2 separate regions of the Homo sapiens genome follow, and region 1 is linked to region 2. Evidence: promoter capture Hi-C in human tissues and cell types (Jung and others, 2019). All regions are on one chromosome and are shown on one strand. Each heading gives the region's core, a stretch centred on a gene start or on the middle of the fragment in contact. The rest is flanking DNA. Distances are from core to core; before and after follow the strand shown. Region 1 overlaps SCN11A (sodium voltage-gated channel alpha subunit 11). Region 2 holds the start of SCN5A (sodium voltage-gated channel alpha subunit 5).

Region 1 (3,746 bases), core at 700-3,199, 330 kb after region 2:
TGTAAAGCGCATTTGTTTCCACAGAGCAAGAGGAAATTAGCTTCATTCTCAACAAAGTGCACAAGTCTTCCTGGCCCACTAAGGCATCCTTTTTTCTTAATGGTTTAATGGGCCCTGGGTAAACAGTGGGTGAGCCCCTGACTTAAATGGAAAGGTCTGAGATTATGTAATACAGCCCTGCCGAGCTAATAAGGCAGGGTGGGGAGCTGCTTCAGAGCTATTGCTTTTATACGAACAACCCAGTGGATTGTTTTACTGGAACAAGCTTTGACATAGGTTTCATTTACTAAGGGAGGAAAATTTCTCTGAAAGTAGGGAATCAGCAGACATAATATATGAAAGATACAGTGGTGAAGCAGCATATAGTTAGTTAAAATGTGTCATGCTACACAGTGACAATGGTGATGGCTCAAGGATGGGGTGGGGGTCAGGAAAGGAAAACCAGGAAGGAAGAACTGTGGACCCAGGGTCAGGATCCTGGGCTGTCATGTAACATCTTCCAATAAATGTGATCTTGGGGGAGACCATTTTGGGCCTTGGTTTCCACATCTGCGAAATGTTATTATAGCCATGAACACTTACTGAAAGCTTACCCCATATGCCAGACACATCTTCCAATCAACTTATGTGAGTTATCTCATTTAATTTTCACAACAATACAAAGTAGCGGGGAAAACTTCTGGCTTCTCTTGAAAACTCAGAAAATCTAACAATGTTGAGTATGAGTCCAAAATGTCAGCAAGAAGCCAGAGCTGAATAGGGAAGGCTGTTTTAGATGAGACCATTAGCCACAGACCTCACCACTCTTCTTACTGTGCTACTTATTTCCTTTATAGTACCTGAGTGGTTCCTGCTGCGTGTGGGTTTGTGGCCCCTGCATTAGATGGCCTTCATGATTCCTCTTCACCCCTGAGCTTTGATGTTTTTTGCTCCATGTCACCTTCACCAGAGTGGTCAGGCCATTCTTCAATATTCAGACCTAGGCAAAAGGTGCATGACTTTGAACTCCCCTAGTTAAGTTAAGGCTTCTAGAAAGAACAGGCTTTGGGAGCTGAGGAAGGGTGCTCACTGTGCCCTATAAAATAGAGTTTCAATAGACACTGGGTCCTCTGTGGCCTGACCTCCCCTGTGTCAGCAACTTGAGTCTCACTTGAATGGGGAAAGAAAGTAATAGAGAAATGAACAAGGAAATTCTGAAACCCTCAAGACAAACAAGGACCCTCCTATCATTAAGGTAAAGCCAAGTGTGACCCTAAGGCAAGTTACTTAACCTCTGCGTCTCAGTTTCCTCATCTATAAGTTAATGACAACCTCTACCCCATAAGGGAGCTTGAAAGAAAATCCAAAAAAGAAAGAATCTCTTTGAGTTGCTAATGACTCTTAAGTTTCTGGTTCTAGTCCTTTGACCATCATGACAGTCCTATGGTTTTACGAAAGAACTATCCATCTCTATTTAAAAAACAAAAAACACAAAGACCTTTTTTGCTTAAGCTAACTTGTGTTGGGTTTCATCCACCAGGAAGTTAGAGAGAGAAATTACTTAGAGATAAACTTACACATTACAAATCCTTCTGTTCTGTGTGCTTTTAAAAATGTTCAATTTCTAAATGGGCCTCTGGTGAAGATAATGATCACCTCATTGATTTGTTCCCAGGAGAACAGGGTAAAATGAAGTCCTGCTGATCACATTTCTAAATCTTTTTAGTCCCATTGCTTTGGGAAAGTTTCCACACCAGTCATCCTTCTACAGCCTCCCTCTTTCCCACTGTTCCTTCTCTGCAACCACCAGGAAAGGAGGAATCCCAGAGCAGTCTTGCTCCATGACCATCAGGTCCTTTTCACTCATAATCCTCTTAGACCACATTCTCTAGGAATGTACTCATTCTTCAATGGGTGCCTCCACTGAGGAAGGTGCCCTATTCATCTGGAGACCAACATGTTCAGAGCTGCTAGTATCTGCCTCCTTCTGGCTCTTCAACATTGCATTCAATCTAAAGAGCTCCCCCTACCTTCCCATAATTGTTATTTTAGTTTAAATAAGAAAGAGCTGGTTTCTGTTGTTTGCAACCCAAGAACCCTAAATCCAATATGGCACCTTAGTGGTGAGGACAAGGGGGTAGATGGTAAAAGGGAGATATTGATATTGAATTGTCAAGGAAAGCCTTTCTGAGGAGGTGAAATTTGTGCTGAGCTTTTTTTTTTTTGAGACAAAGCCACACTCCTGTCCCCCAGGCTGGAGTGCAATGTCATGATCTTGGCTCACTACAACCTCTGCTTCTCAGGTTCAAACAATTCTCCAGCCTCAGCCTCCCAAGTAGCTGGGATTACAGGTACCTGCCACCATGCCCGGCTAATTTTTGTATTTTTAGTAGAGACGGGGTTTCACCATGTTGGCCAGGCTGGTCTCAAACTCCTGCCCTCAGGTGATCCGCCCACCTTGGCCTCCCAACGTGCTGGGATTACAGGCGTGAGCCACTGTGCCTGGCTGAAATTCGTGTTGAGCTTTCAATGAAGGCACGCGAAAGTCTGGGGGAGGGAACATTCCAAGAAAATAAGAGCAAATGCAAAGACCTTGACTCAGAAACACATTCAAGGGCAGTGAGGAGGCCAGTGTGACTAGAGTTGAGTGAATGAGCAAGCATAGTAGGAGATGAGGCAGAGATGTAGGCAGGGGCTGGATTATGTATGGTCACTAGGCTGCAGCAGACTATTTCAGTTTTGTGATACAATGAAAGCCACAGGAGGGCTTAAACAGAGGATGACATATTCGGATTTTTTAAAAAAATGTCTTTCTGGCTGGCTGTCTTTTTTTTTTTTTTTTTGAGACAGAGTCTTGCTCTGTTGCCCAGGCTGGAGTGCAGTGGCGCAGTCTCAGCTCACTGCAAGCTCTGCCTCCCGGGTTTATGCCATTCTCCTGCCTTAGCCTCCCGAGTAGCTGGGACTACAGGCACCCGCCACTACGCCCGGCTAATTTTTTTTTGTATTTTTAGTAGAGACGGGGTTTCACCGTGTTAGCCAGGATGGTCTCGATCTCCTGACCTCGTGATCCACCCATCTCGGCCTCCCAAAGTGCTGGGATTACAGGCGTGAGCCACCGCACCCGGCCTGCTGGCTGTCTTAAGAATCAACTGTTAGGGACAGGTGTAAAAATGAAAAGATCAGTGGGGACACTGTTGCAGGAGTGCAGGCTGGAGGTGACCATGGCTTGGGTGTGAGCTATGGCAGTGAAGATGGAGAAAGGCAGATAGATTTGTGAAACCATTTCAAGAAAAAGCTGTCTTACATAATTTGCTGATGTGGATTGTGAGGGGAAGAGTATAATCAAGGCTGAGTCTTGGATTTTGGACTGAACAACAGCATAAATGCATTTGCCATTTGCTGGGATGGTGAAAACTAGAAGAGACATGTTGTTTAAAGTATTAGTCATCTACTGCTGTGTAAGAAATGACCTCAAAACTTAGTGGCTTAAAATAGCCATAAGTGTTTACCATCTCACAGTTTCTATGGGTCATGAATTCCAGAATGGATTAGCTGGGTTCCTCCAGCTCATGATCTCTCCTGAGGTTGCAGTCAAGATGTTAGCTAGTTGGTCTTGGTTGGGACTAAAGGGTCTGCTTTGCAGGTGGCTCACTCATGAGGCAAGGTTGTACTGGCCATTGGTGGGAAACTGCCATTTCTCCCTACCGGGACCTTTCCACAGTCTGTTTGAGTGTCCTATACAAGTGATGTAAGAAAGTAAGGCAAAA
Region 2 (3,368 bases), core at 662-3,161:
GGAGCCGAGCACCTTGGAGCACAGCAGCTGCCCTTGCCACATTGGGCTGAATGCTGGCTCTTGGCACCCCAGGGCCAGTTCCCCTTCTGCTCAGATCCTCCTGGCTCAGTTCTAGGCTTATTTGCCCCACAGAAAGTAGATCTCAAGGTGTCTTCACATTGCGTGGTGCCCCCAATCCACTGATTCTCTAGATGACATTGAATAAGTCCTTGAGCTCCTCTGGGCCTCAGTTTCCCCACTTGTATGATATGGTAGTGATGACATGATTAAAAGTTTAATGAGGCTCTTTTCAGCACAGAGCTGGACACTGTAACATAGAATCTGTGTTCCACACCCTGGCTGTCACCTGACCTCACCCTCTCCATGCTCCTGCAACAGCAGCCTGACCACCCTCATTCCACCTCGCACTCATTACCACCGATTCATATGCACCTGCCCAATTCTAACTGAGTGGAGATGAGGTCAAACAGATGGAGTTGAGGGCAGCGGCAATGGCCTGGGCCCCCAGTAGCTGGGGCCTCTGCTGCTCACGGTCCCACTAGATCCTGAAGGATGGTGGGAACCTGGGAGAGGGCTTGGGATGCCATGGCATGGTGGGGGTCACGTGGTTTGCCATCTGGATGATACTGCCTAGGCTCACTGGGAGACACACCTGGGGTCTCAGCAGGAGGCGAGCAGATGCCTGGGAATGGAACATAGGCCCAGGACCTTAAGAGGAGATAGATCCCATGGCCCGGGGCTGGGCTGAAGGCACTGAGGAGCACAAGAGTGAGTCCTGCACTATCTTAGCCATGGCATCCTGATCTGGCTGTGCTCTGCTCTCCAACAGGTGTTTGCAAGGCAGGCCTACAGCCAGGGACTTGTCCCCAACATCATTTCCCCCCATCCTCATCACCACCACTAACAGTCCCCACACCTCTGGCCCCCACCAGCTCTTGGCCTCTCGGACAAAGCTTGGCACCTCCACTTTCTTCCAGAGCGCCACCAAAGACGATCAAATAACACAGAGGTCGAGAGCCACCTCCCATCAGGGTGCGTGGATCTGTTCCGGCTCAGAGAGAGGAGGGCAGAGAACTCTCTCCAATCTCACCGCAAAGAGATCTCCACCCCTTCGAGAAGCACAGAGATCAGACAGAGGAGATGCGGCCCCTTTAGGGCGTCAAAGGGCACCGAGATCTCTACATGGTCTAAACGCGCAGAGATCTCGTCCCACAGAGAGGACAGCCCCAGCGGACGGTTCCCCCTGGGCCCAGAGAAAGGGGGTGCGTGGCTTCCTCCCCCATATCCAGCCCTGCTCGGTCAGCCCCCGCAAACCCCGCTCTCTGGAACCACATTCATGGCGCGCCTAGTCGCCGCTCTGACCTTGGGGTCTCCGGCCTCCGGTATCCGGGTCCCAATCCCAGACCCTCCCCGAGCCTGCGCCAGGGATGGCCGGGAAGCTGGGGCCGCAGCTCCCCCTCCCCCGGCCCTCGACAGCGCACCGGGAAACCCGGAAGGAAAGGGAAGGGAAGGGGGGCGCACGGTGTTTAGAGACGTCTCCCCCGGGGATACCCTCCAGCCGGGCGGATCTGCGCCCCTTCTCCCCCTCCGGCTCTCTGGGGCACTGATCGGGGAGGGAGCGGCTGGGCGGACCCGGGGCAGGGAGGAGCACGCAGGGACTGGAGGCTTCGGCCCTCGGGGAGGAAAGTTGGGCGGCGGCAGGCGGAGGGGGCTCCGGCCGGGCCAGGGCTGCCGGGCGCGGGGGCACTCGCTCACCTGCTGGTCCCCCGGCCGGGCCCCGGGGTGGGCGGCTGCTGCTTGGCGCGGACTCGGCTCGGCGCGGGGCTCGGGGCACTGGGCGCAGGCTCAGCGGCCCCGGGGGAGCGATCCCTGCATCCTACGGGCGCCGCCGCCGTCTCGGCTCCGCGGCTCTGTTCGGGCTCCCGGGCTGGGCAGGCGGCGCGGGCTCGGGCTGGGGGCGGGGTCGGGGGCGGGGTCGGGGCGGGCCCCGCCTGGGTTCGGCCTGGGGCTTGGGGCCCCGGGCTGGCTCCGCCCCAGAGCGACGCGCCCAGGGCTCCGCACGTGGTGCTCCGCCCGCTCGGAGGGGGGACACACCAGCGCCCGCCGGGGCGCACACTCCCACACTGACCCGGGGGCTCACAGCCACAGACAGCCGCACACGCGGCCGCGGACAGACAGACATAGGCGGGGGTACACACACGGCGACCCGGCGACGCTTCACCACAGATGGCCACCCACGCGGACGCGGACAGGCTCACATTAACAAACACTGGCATACACACCAGCACCCGCCAGAGTATACACACACACACACGCAACCTTGCTGACTTGGGAAGGCTACCAGACACCCACCCACCCACGTGGACACGGGCATACACTGACACTCATGCCGAGACAGACACACGCTGCCATAGGCATACCTGCACTGACACAGACACACACATGCACCCTGAGACAGATACACACCCCCACACACCCACACAGACACAGACAGACACATCATTGACACACACTGACACTGAGGAAGACACTCTGACAAACTTAGACACCCACATGACTTAGACACACATCCACTGACACACTGACACAGAGACACACACACTCACTCGAACCACACTTTCCTGGAGACACACTTAGTGATGCCACAGAAATCTGCACAATGGTACACATCTACCTGAACACACGGACGCACATGCTGACAGAACCAAACACACACCCAGACCCAGAAGCAAGCAGGCAACCAACACAGAGACACCCACACACGCGCGCGCGCAAACACACACACACACATACATATATATACATGTATATACCTCTTTATATATATACTTCCACCCTCTTGAGCCACATACAACCTTCACCTTGACACATGCAGAGCCTGGAGTCACATACTTACACACCCACTGTTTCTCACTCAGAGACATGGTCACAGGCACACACACACGGAGACATACGCTGACAAACAGTTGCTCCCATGCCCATGCCCAGGACCTATGGGGACACACTTCTTGTTTAAACAAAACAGGCCATCAGGGCAACCCGCTTGGGTCCCCTTCCACGCTGTGGAAGCTTTGTTCTTTCCCTCTTCACAATAAATCTTGCGCTTCTAAAAACAAAAACAAAAACAAAACAAAACAACAACAAAAAACAGGCCATCAGCTTTTGCCCACGAAAAAAGTACAGTCATTGGAAGGGATGGTACACTTTTCTGCCACATTTTCAGGGCTCCCAAAAGCAAGAACCGCTCTTAGAGAGCCAAATGGGTGCCAGGGTCTCAGAGGGCACAGAGGTGCTGGGTTTGGGAGCCCAGAGGCTGGGACCTGCTCCTCCATGATGGGGATCTTGAAGAGGTGGGAGGGCAAAGAGGG

The links. The method cuts DNA at HindIII sites, captures the fragments that hold promoters and counts their contacts. A contact is called where the count stands out against the background at its distance.
Region 1: a contact is called between a fragment that was not itself captured here and the fragment with the promoter of SCN5A in region 2, in 1 of the 25 tissues and cell types used here (liver).

The regions. Positions count from the first base shown.
Region 1 is chr3:38,982,324-38,986,069 of GRCh38, forward strand. The region is part of intron 2 of SCN11A (sodium voltage-gated channel alpha subunit 11); the gene reads right to left. Among named protein-coding and RNA genes, the nearest start is that of SCN11A, 68 kb to the right of the region's middle. The HindIII fragment of the contact is 6,597 bases long and covers 1-3,746 here.
Region 2 is chr3:38,647,776-38,651,143 of GRCh38, forward strand. SCN5A (sodium voltage-gated channel alpha subunit 5) reads right to left here and starts at 1,912. Exons shown (of 28, transcript NM_000335.5): 1 at 1,756-1,912. RefSeq lists a silencer at 1,871-2,030. The HindIII fragment of the contact is 3,470 bases long and covers 1-3,368 here.